Linked DNA regions of Homo sapiens: region 1 is linked to region 2. Evidence: promoter capture Hi-C in 16 types of primary human blood cells and fetal thymus (Javierre and others, 2016). All regions are on one chromosome and are shown on one strand. The core of a region is centred on a gene start or on the middle of the fragment in contact, and the rest is flanking DNA. Distances in the headings are between cores, read along the strand shown. Region 1 holds the start of RAMP1 (receptor activity modifying protein 1). Region 2 holds the start of ASB1 (ankyrin repeat and SOCS box containing 1).

What was found. The method cuts DNA at HindIII sites, captures the fragments that hold promoters and counts their contacts. A CHiCAGO score of 5 or more calls a contact.
Region 1: a contact is called between the fragment with the promoter of RAMP1 here and the fragment with the promoter of ASB1 in region 2, in 4 of 17 cell types (naive B cells, total B cells, erythroblasts and 1 more). The highest score is 8.6, in naive B cells.

The regions. Positions count from the first base shown.
Region 1 is chr2:237,855,411-237,861,060 of GRCh38, forward strand. It overlaps RAMP1 (receptor activity modifying protein 1), which reads left to right and starts at 4,213. Exons shown (of 3, transcript NM_005855.4): 1 at 4,213-4,317. The coding sequence starts at 4,266. RefSeq lists enhancers at 2,025-2,813, 2,814-3,600. The HindIII fragment of the contact is 3,458 bases long and covers 2,292-5,650 here.
Region 2 is chr2:238,422,872-238,428,378 of GRCh38, forward strand. It overlaps ASB1 (ankyrin repeat and SOCS box containing 1), which reads left to right and starts at 4,056. Exons shown (of 5, transcript NM_001040445.3): 1 at 4,056-4,248. The coding sequence starts at 4,200. It overlaps LOC124908002 (a long non-coding RNA gene), which reads right to left and starts at 4,023. Exons shown (of 2, transcript XR_007088163.1): 1 at 1-4,023. RefSeq lists enhancers at 2,637-3,172, 4,685-4,804 and silencers at 3,505-3,894, 3,915-4,434. The HindIII fragment of the contact is 6,850 bases long and covers 1-5,507 here.

The DNA.
Region 1 (5,650 bases), core at 2,963-5,462, 570 kb before region 2:
GTTCATCAGCCTCCCTCTTGGCTCCACGATTTTTCTCAGTCTGCCTTTGCTCACACTAAGCATGTGGCTGGCTGAGGGTAGTATAGGAGTGTGAGTTGTGTAGTGGGATTTGGTGGGAATTTTTTCCCTGTTACTCAGCTCCTTTGCAGTTGGAAAATTCTCCAAGTAATGCTGAGGACAGTTTTATATAGAATTTATTTTTCACTTCTTGTTTTTTGTTTGTTTTGTTTCTTGGGGGAATAGGGGAGATAGGCAACTTCTGTTCTCAGCTACTTGCAAGTGTGTTGGTTTTAACAGTGGGACTTCCTGCAGGACTTGAAAAATTGATAGTTGATGAACCTGAGTTCCCTGAGATACTGCTGTTTTTGTTAGTGTTTATCCAGCAATTGCACGATTTAAACAACTCACAGAACTAAGTTGTTATTGCTTATAAGCATGTTATCTTCAGAACCACTGATTCATTATTGATAATGATTGAAGTTCAGCCTTTAAATTGCAGGCCTGATAGTGAGGACACCAGTGGAGTCTTCCCCTTCATATCAGCAAGTTATTGAAAAACTATCTGTAGAATATTTGATGCTTTTTTCCTTCCAGTACTTAAAAACGTTCCATTGTATTCTGGTGGCATTATATCCCATGAGAACTCTTCTGTCACCCTTACCTGTGTTTTGTACATCAGCAGTCCCTAGCCTTTTTGGCACCAGGGACTGGTTTTGTGGAAGACAATTTTTCCATGGGGTGAGAGGGGGATGGTTTAGGGATGAAACGGTTCCACCTCAGATCATCATTCTCATAAGAAGTGCAACCTAGATCCCTTGCATGAACAGTTCACGGTAGGGTTAGATCAGCTACTGCTGATCTAACAAGATGCGGACCTCAGCTTCACTAGCTCACCCGCTGCTCACCTCCTGCTGTGAGGCCAGGTTCCTAACAGGCCATGATCTGGTACTCCTGTGGGGTTGGGGGACCCCTGCTATACGTAATGTCTTCTCTCTCTGGCTGCTTTTAAGGTTTTCTCTTTATTACTGGCTTTAGGCAATTTGATCGTGATGTGCTTTCACATATTTTTCTAAATGATTTTTGTGCTTGGAGTTTGGGGATGTTCTTGGCTCATGGGTTAATAGAAAATGTTCCACATAGTGGTTTTTCACATATTTCCCACCCATCTTCCTCCAGGGGCTCCAGTTACACCTTAGAGTTGCCACCTGGAGTTGCCTCATGGCTCTCTGATGCTTTGTTCTTTTATTGTTTTTAAGTTACGGGATGTAATAGCTACTTGGAAATCATTTGCTCCTGTTAGTTCTTGCTTTTAAGTTTTGTTAGGCAGCACCAGAATAGCCTTTGTAATTTTTACTGACTACAGAGAGGGACTTGCCCTTCTAATTATGCTCTGATGTTCTGTGTATTTCAAGATTTTTCCACTATGGTTGGTGGGAACTGGAACTATTCCCAGCTGGGTGTGGGCTCTTAGGCTCTTTTCCCTTGGGTAGTGTCCTTAGATGTGTGGGCTGAGACTCAAGTGGGACCCTCTGTGATCTCGCAAGCGCATTCTTTGCGCAGCTCTTTCCTCTCTGGTACTATGCCCTGCCAGCGTTAACTGCCTGGCTTCCCCAGACTCTCTTTGGGTTTCCTTTCTCCATCTGTGGTCTGCAAACTCCAGGCAGTGAGCAGTTGTAGCACTCACCTTATTTGTTTCCCTGCTCTCAGGGGTCCCTGCACTTCTTGTGGTCCACTGTGACAACTGTTGTTTCATACATTTTGTCCAGTTTTTTAGTTTAAGATGGGAAGGTGAGTCCAGTCCCTGTAACTTCATCTCGGCTGGAAGCAGGAATCTTATGTTAATAGTGAATTTTTAGCAGTGTTGACCAGGCTTTGATTGTATCTTTAGCCCTACTGTGTATGCAGTAAAGCACTTGGCCATTTTCTAATCTCTTCTATTGTTTAACCTAATGCCCCTCTAGATTGAGGTACCCTGGGAGAGGAATGATTTTCCATGCTACCTATGACCAATTAGAAATACAGATACATCAGACTACAACTTTTGAAGACGGGAAGCCCATAGTAGTTGCTAAGGAATGTCTTACTTAGACCCAAGGTACAGACAGGAAAATCATTAGGAGAGAACATGCCTCTAGGTGTGTGCCTTACTTCAGCATTCTCCAGAGAACTGTGAATTTCTAAAGCATGTGAACTTGAGAAATAGGCTTTGTCTTCTTAGGAAAATGTATCCTTTAGGGGGTGTTGAGAAAACAGCAGTGACAGGGGCCTCTGGCCTTGCCTCCTTGCAGTCAAGCTTCAAAGAGAAAACGTTGGGAAGAAAGACTCCTGCTGAGCCTGATGAAAGAGGAGTCCCAGTTGCCAACCAAAAACATGCAGCCAAAGTCCACAAGCTACAAGTAGAAAGGGTGGCTCAAGCCAGAGTCCCTGGATATGGAGGGCGAGTGATGGCTGCAGAAAGATGCAGGTTCTTCTCCCCCACTATGACTGGCCATCGCCTAGTGCAGGATGTACGGTGGCCCTGTCCCAGGGCTGTGCTGGCAGCCACCCTTCCCCACTAGCTGTGCTGCTCTCACATGGCACGGCCTCTGGCTGCCAGGCCTGTGCTCGGGCCTGCATTTCCCTTGTGCCCTTCTCTCCACCCAGCCCTCAGGACTGCCTGGGCTGCATTTTGTCCAGAATCCTTTGTCTCCTTACTTGCACTGCAGCTGAGGCGAGTGTCCCTTGTTCCGGGTGGCTCCTGTATTGTGGCGCTCATGTTATTGAGAGTCTTAGAGGTCACCCCCTAGATTCACCAATTGAAGGGCAGGGCTTGTCGATCTAACAGTGTCTTGCACATAGGGACACAAATGTCTGTTAAATGAAGAAAGTAGGGATGCCAGGCCACCCAATGGGGTGTATCTCCTAGGGTTCAAGAACAAGGGCTAATCAAGTCAAGAGAATGTGTGCCCTCCCCCACCATCTCACCCCTCACTCTCAGAACACTTGGGGCCCCTGCACAGGTGGTAGGCATGCTGGCCCTGAGTGCCCTCCCAGCCTGTGTTAGAAGAACCAGTGGATGACCTCGCTGTCAGCTGTCTCCCCTTCTCTGAGCTTACTGCAGGTGGCAGCAGCCTCTCAGCCACAGACTGTTCCCTTTCCTAGGAGAAAACGATGGTCACTCAGCAATGCTGTGCGCTTGCAGCTTCCACCACAAAAGAGACAGCTGTGGCCGCAGCACCAGGGTGGTGATTCTTCCCCCTCCAAGGGCAGTGGTGCATTCCTTAGCACAAGTATAAATTTACTGTTGCTAAGAGTTCTCGGAACAGGATAATACAAGAAGGAACCACTGCAAGTGAAATCCAGCCACCAGTAATGCCGAGAGGCCAGGCCTGTGCCTCCCAAAACCTGCTCCTCCGCAGGCTTCCCCGGCCCATCTCCAGAGCGCCCTCCTCTCACCACTTTACATAAACGAATGTACCCAAGATCCCCCATCAGTTTTCCATGCAGCTGCCAGAGTGCCACCAAAGCAAACCTCATCTCAAGACTCTGTGGCCAGGCCCTCACAACCTCCTGCCAGGCTCTCGCTACCTACCCATCAACAGCAAGACTCCCAGGCCATCTCAATCCCCCCAAAGAGCCCTGTTCCTCCAGCCCCACGGCTTCTGTTCACCTGCCGTGCTGTCCCCGCCTCTGCCCACCCACTCATCCTGCAGATCTGGAGCAGCATTCCAGGGCCTGGTAAGTGTGCGCCATTTTGGGTTACTACGGGTCTCGCCAGGCGCGGTGGCGAGTTTTGCCCCCCACGCTCCCCAGCGCCTGCACCTGGGCGGAGAGGTAGATAAGGCTGGGAGATCTTAGCCTTTTGCAAGGCAAACACCAGGCAGGAACGCCCAGAACCTCGGAGGAGGAGGAGGGGAAGATCCCCAGGTGGAGACCAAGGTGCCCCTCACGCTGAGTCGTCTAGGAGACCCTCCCTAGTTTAAAAAGTGTTTATTTGCTCGGAGAACATTTCAGGAGGCCTTCCTGGGACCCCAAGTGTGCCGCCCCCCGGGAGGGGCCTGGAGACGCCCGCGCGGCCCCCCTGCAAAGTTTTACCGGCCCTGGGCGCCCCCGGCCCTGGCACCCACGCGGGGAGCCGCAGTGGGCCGGGCCGCGCGGCCGCCGCCTCCCACCGCTCCCGCGCCCGCTCCCGCCCCCGGCGCGTCTCCTCCGGGCCCGCGCCGCGGCGGGCTCAGTCCTCAGCGGGGCGCGTGGCGAGCGGACTCGACTCGGCACCGCTGTGCACCATGGCCCGGGCCCTGTGCCGCCTCCCGCGGCGCGGCCTCTGGCTGCTCCTGGGTGAGTAGGTCCAGGGGTCCCGGCCGAGCTCCCTTCCCCTGGCCAGCCGGTGTCCTCTAGGGGAGAGGAGGGGAGCGGGTGGGAGCGGGTGGGAGCGGGTGGGGGCGGGCGCCGCGGGCGCACAGATCCGCTGCCCTTGAACGCGGGCCGCCCCGGTTCCAGGCGGGAGGCCCCAGGGCACAGGGGAGGCGGAGGGCGCGGACCGGTGTTGCGCTTCTCGCCGGGGAAGGGACGGCTTTGGGGACGTCGGAGAGCGGGCATTCTGGAAAGCGTGGGGTGAGTCAGCCCTGCACACTGGAGAACTAGTTTTCAGAAGGAAAAACAGGACGCGGGGTTCCCCAGCCCCGCACCTCGTTTCTCAGGCTGTGCGCCGCGGTGACTGCCAGCGCAGGCTCCCTTCCCTAGGCCGTCCCGCGTTGCAAAACCTGCAGACGGGCACCTTGCAGAAGACGCAGTGTTCGGGAATCAGAACCACAGCCGGTTTGTATGGAAATTAGTCAACACTGACAATCTGTCGCCTGCAGCAGTTGCTTGTTTGCAAATCACGTCTTTTGCAGAAATGAGGCCAGCCCTTTTCGGGACACTTCCATCGCTTTTTTTCTTTTTTCTTTTGGTTTGCTTGTTAACTTGGCACTTTTGGCTAATAGAAATTTAAAGAAGGACGGGTCCCTTGGTGAAGTGGTGGAACACGTTTGGCTTTCCACTTGGAGGGAGAAGTGGAGATTAGCGGCAGCCTCATGGCCACAGGAACTGGCCACACACTCGGCAAGAAACGGTGCTGTTCACTTCCCTTGTCTGTAATGTGTTCCTAAAATGCTAACTCAAGCCCCTTCTAAACCGCTTTGGCTATTGCATTATTCCGTGTATTTAGCTACCTTTTAACGGAAACTGTGAATAGGTTACTGGCGTGGGAGAACCCAGTGTCCCTGGGAAGGCCGGAGCAGTTGTTTCTGGTATGTGTGGCCTTTCCCCGGAAACAGTGATGTTGGTCAGAGGCACCTGCCGCACAAGACCTCTTTGGCGCTGGCACTGGGCAAGCAGGGACCACCGGCGCTGTTGTAGCTGGGGGAGTGGTTCGTGGCCCAGCGAGGAGAGGGGCCAGGGCTTCTTGGGAGCCATGGATTTCTGTTCCCTATTTGTAAACCTCTCCAAGGGGTGGCAGATCTGCATAGAATCCTCAGAGGCCGATATAATATAATCTGAAAGCGGATCTTGCCACTTTAGAGTTTTGGCTGAAGTTACGTGGAAAGCAGAATCTCGCAGTAATTTTATTCTCTCCATTTGGCTTGACATGGCCTTCACTGTTTTCATTTACTAAGAAACAAACATTTCT
Region 2 (5,507 bases), core at 2,806-5,305:
GGACAGGCGGGGAGCGGAGCTGAGGGCTGGGATAGGGTCTCCACTCACCCTGCTTTGAAAACTGGCAGCTCTGTGTTCTGAGGCCCACTCAGTGCTGGGCAAGCTGGGCTGTTGGTCCCGCTGTGGCCGAAGAGTCTCTAAAAACCTCCTGTCTCTGCTGCCAGTCCCTGCTCTGGGACTGAGATTTCCTCACCTCTGACTCCTCCCGCTGTGGCAGTGACCAGCACATGGTAGTTGCCTTCCACAGGTGCTGCCTGGAGAGACGCAGGCCCTGGTAGAGGATGCAGGGGCTCACTGAGCGCTGTGGCCTCCTGACACTAGTGGAGTTCTCGGTCACACCAAGGGAGGCAGCACAGCACCTGTGAGGGGGGCTGAAAGAGGGCACCCCCTTGGCAGGACTCCCAGGGCCCACACTGTCCTCTGCAGTCCCCACAGCTGGGCTTCCCGGTCCTCCCTGGGACCTCCACTGCCAGGCTAAACCACATCCAGGCAGAGGCCGACCTGGCTGGAAGAGGGAGGCTTCGAGGGCTGCAAGGAACATCACGGCCTGGGCCCTGCCCAGCCCCACCAGCCCCAAGCTGAGGGCCTGCTGGGACACTGCGTCTACCCCTGAGCCCTGCTCTGTTCCAAGCTGGGCAGAGAAGGTGGGCTCAGTTTAGGACAGGGTGGGGTGGGGTGGGAGGCTGGAGGTGGGCGTGGCTCCACTCAGCAAAGCCATGCCATAGCGTTAGCAGCCATGGCACCGATGCCCACTGTGTCCTGAGGCTCTCTCTGCCCCAGGAAGCCTGTGGCACATTCTATGGGATTTTGTGTCTTTACAAAGCCTGCAAAGTGGGTATTATCAGCCCGATTTGACAGGGAGGCAGCTGGTGCTCAGAGGAGTCACCCTGTCCTGGTGACTCAGCTGGAAGGATGTGGATCTGCCTCCCTAGCTTGGGGCAGACACCCTGACTCTCTGCAGGTGGGCTCCAAGGCCTGAGACAGGGTCTGCGGGGCAGGGGCTGGTAAAGATGTTTCCAGGGCAAAGCCTGGAGGGTCAGCGGGCTGCCCTCATCTCGTGGCCTCACCTGGTAAACCTTCAGATCCCCTGCTTCCTTCAAAGCAGGAGATCCTTCAAAGGGGAAGAGAGGGCTGGGCCTCCTGGGAGGAGACACCCCAAACACAGGCCCACAGGGCCTAGGATCAGGAGAGATTCCCATTTCTGGTCCCTGCCTGGGTGACATCTGCTGCCCAATTCCCGGAGACAGCTGTGGGGGTTAAGCGACAGCAGCACCAGCACACCCAGGCCCAGCAGGATCCTCACCAGCCTGCAGCTGTGGAGCTCATGTTTCCAGCCCCCCATATACCTGCCATGCTTCCAGAGGGGCCCCCAGTTCCCTGCAACAGGAAGGATGAGGGATGGGGGCCCCTTCTCAGACCTCCTGAACCAGAAAGTCCATTGTTGGACATTTTTGTTATAAAATGATGGTAATGAGCACTACTGTAGCTGAATCTCCCCCACATCTGATTATTTCCCTAGAATGAATGCCTGGAAGAGGCATTTCTGATCAAGGATTATTCATTCTTATGCTTTAGCTAGACTGCCAAATTTTCCACCACAAAGACTGGGCTAGGCTCCACAGAGGGGTCACTGGGGACACTTTGGGGGAGGCCTGAGCCTCCAGGAGGCAACAGGAAGCGACGGGTGATTTTAGGGGTGGGAAAACGGGAGGGAGCCACTGGGACCTGGAGGGGCAAGACAGCCCACTGCACTGGTCCTGTTGCTGCTGTGCTGGGCTGGGATGGCACTGGTAGGCACTGGTAAATCCCTGTTGCTTGTAGGTGATGGGACCCAAGTTGCTTCATCTCTAGCGGTCACTGAGTGTCCCTGTGTTGGTGGGTCTTTTGGGCTCAGAGGACCTGGAAGAAGAGGGACTCTGGAGAGGTGAGGTCAGAGGGGGAGACAGGCTGTAGGGCTGGACAGTCTGGATGTGATCCCAACTCAGCCACCTGTGGGCTATGTGGTTTTGGGCATAGCACCAGGCCCCCAGATCTCAGGGTCCTGAGAAATGGGGGTGATGGTATTGGCAGAGTGGCCAGCAATTGAGTGTCCTTCCCCCTCCAGCACTGCTGGCTCTGTGGACACTGCCCTGCACCATGTGGGCATTTAGGAGGCACGGAGGTGGGCATGTGAGGCCACCTCCCCGCTACAGACCACGTGCGGCCTCAGGTTCTTCTAAGAGGCAGGATCCCAAGGGCAACACGTGGCAGGGAAGGTGGAGGTGCAGGTGCAGGAGGGCCACTCTGCTCAGGGACTCAATACCTTGATGCAAAGGCTACCGACACGCAGAACGCTCACTGTGAGCCCACCGGGACCAGGCAGGCAGAGCAGCGGAGGCCCCCGGAGACGTGGCTCTCACCAGGCTGCACTTTAGAATCACCTGGGTGCTCTGAACCACCCAACACCCAACCCGCACCCCTGACTGACTGCACCGGAACCTCTTTTAAAAAATTCTTTAAAACAATTGTGGTAAAATATATAGAACATAAAACTTAACCTGCTTTAAATGCGCAGTTCAGTACTGTTAATGCACAATTCACATTGCTGTGTGACCCGTCTCCAAAACTTTTTCATCTTCCTCAACTGAAGCTCTGTCCCCATGAAAAACTAACTCCTCATTCCCCACTCCCCCAGCCCTTGGCAACCCCCATTCCGCTCCACCATTTCACTGCTCCAGGGACCTCAAATAATTGGAATCACACAGTACTGTATTTGTCTTTTTGTGGCTGGCTTATCTCACTCAGCATAACGTCTTCAAGGTCATCCGTGTTGTGACGTGTGTCAGGATTCCCTTCCTTTCTAAGGCTGAGTACGAATCCATTGTATGGACGGACAGCATTTCCTTTCTAAGGCTGAGTACGATTCCATTGTATGGATGGACGGCATTTCGTTTATCCATTCATCCATCCAACAACACGTGAGGCGGCTTCAGGCTTCGGAGTTGCTGAAGCTCCGAGTTCGGGATGTGCAGCTGTGGTGGAGCCAGGGGCTGGGCACACCCCTGGCTCCTGGCCTGGCAGCGTCATCATCGGAGTCACCTGTCCCTCATGCCAGTGGTGCTCTCTGCTGTCATCAAGACCAAACACCACTGTAGGAAGTACCCCCACTCCCGCCTCCAACCCCCACAGGGCCTGCCAGGTCTGCCCCCAGTGGGCCCCCTGGTGCATCTGGGCCACCCAGGGCCAGCCTCAGCAGGGGCACTCGCGGGGCTGCGCCTGCGGCTTCCCTTACTCCAGTCTGGAATGTTGTACACACGGATGAGCCAGCAGCTCACGCCCACGACTGCTGGGGTCTCCGGACTCCCTCATCAGCCTCCTGCTGTGCTGTGTACAAATCCTCCTCCTGCATGAGGCCCCGCTGTCTAACTCAGCAGGGGAGAATGGGAGGAGCCAAGGGAATCCGTGCTTTAGGACCAACACCAATACTCATGGTGGGACGACGCTGCGATATTTGAAGTTGGGAGTGTGCAAGAAATGTTACTCGGTTGTTCACGAATGCATTCATTTATTCAATGAACTTCGCGTCAGCCACTGGCTGTCATCAGTTACCGACCTGATTGAGGGCTTCATGGAAGGGATTTGGAGGAGCATTCATCTAAAACCACAGCACGCTGCGACGCTCAGCCCTGCAGTGGGCCCTCACCAGTCCCCGCGCCTCCGAATCCACCCTCCCGGGGCTGCTCGTGGCTAGCGGGGGGCACCTGCGGGGACCAAGCCAGCCCGGCCGAGGCCCGGGTCCCGCCCGCCACGGCCCTCGGGGCCCCGCCCACATCTGGCAGAAGCCACGCCCCGTCCGTGTGGGTGGGGACGGCCCGCCGGACCGAAATTCCCAGACTGCTGCCTCAGGCAACGGGCTTTCCGACTCCTTGGCTTCTTATGTGAGGAAACCACAGCGCGGCCGGCATCCAGAGAGTCGGTTAGCCGCGAAGTTCCCGCCGGACGAAGGGACCAGCCAGCGCCCTGCTAGACAGCGAGGCCGGAAGCGGAGGCGTGGCCCCTGCGCGGCCCCGGAAACCAGTGAGGCCGGCGCGCGCCCGCCGGAAGCCGCGACCCCGACGCGCCCCCCATTGCCCTCGGCGCCGGAAGTGGTCGCGGGTCGTTCTGCTTCCTGCCCGAGGGGCGTGCGCGGGTCAGGGGCGGCCGCGGAGGCGGAAGCATCCATGGCGGAGGGCGGCAGCCCAGACGGGCGGGCAGGGCCGGGCTCCGCAGGTAACGTGCGCGCGGCCACTGGGCCGCGGGGCGTGTGGGGATGGCGAAGGGCTGGCTCCGGCGTCCCTGCCGAGGTCCTGCGTCCTCGTCCCGGGCTGGCCGGGTCCACGGGGCAGCCAGGGAGCCGCACCCTGCAGGCCGGGGGTGGGGTTCAGCGCGGCTCGCAGTGCTGGGCGACCCCACCACGGACGCGCTGCCCTCTCCTCGGCCTCGAGTGCAGTCCCCGCGCTAGATTTTCTTTCCGGTGGAACTTGCTCGTAACTTCCTTCCCGTTAGCCGATACAGATTTGATATGACCCAACCGCAAAAGTAGGACGTGGGCCACCTTCCAGCTCTGAGCGCACGGATCAGGAAAGCCAGCCAGAGGGTAGCCCTAGGGAGGGCAGGCACTTTTTCACCATTCTGCCGCCCACGGCGTGTCCGGTGGTACAGCGGGGGGCAGCCTTCCCACCCACCACAGGCACAGACCAGGGACAACGGGGACGCCGTCTCCAGCGAGCTCGTCAGTGACACAACATGTCCAGGGGCCTTTGGCCCACCAGCAAGGGAGGCAGATAGAAAGGCTCACACCCACCTTCCAAAATAACTGTCCTACTTAGGGTCTCCACCTTGCAGTGTCCCTACCATGCAGATGTGAAGGAAGCGGTCAGGACAGGTTCCCGTTTCCCGGTGGTGTGGTGGGAGTTCCTTCTTGCTGGATTTCTGAGCTTGCCATTCGCGCCAATAGTTTCGTGTGTTCTGGGCTTTCTTTACATGCCTATATTTGTCTTTGGAGGGGTTCCTCTCCTACTTAGTAATAAACCAATACATTTCTTAAACATCTTAAAAGATTGACTTGGAGACTGGTGCAGATAGGCTTTTCCATCCATCCCTCCCTCTGCACCTCCTTCCAATCATTTAACAGACTTGTATTGAAGACCTGCTGTTGGCTAGACCCAGCAGAGGATACTGCAGTGACCAGAAAAAGCCAGACAAAGCATCTACCATCCTGGGCTTTGGTTGGCGTTGACTTTGACTTCAGAGACAGCCAGGACCTTAGGGTCTAGGATGTCATCTCATGTGAGAGTGAGAGACGGAATGATGCGTGTTCCGTGGGAAAAAGAGGACCAACAGCTACTTCCCAGTATAAAGAGAGTTCCTGGGGAATAAACACTGGCTTTGTCGGCTGCACAGGTCTCCTTTTTTTTTGAGACGGAGTTTCGCTCTTGTTGCCCAGGGTGGAGTGCAGTGGCGTGATCTCGGCCCACTGCAGCCTCCGC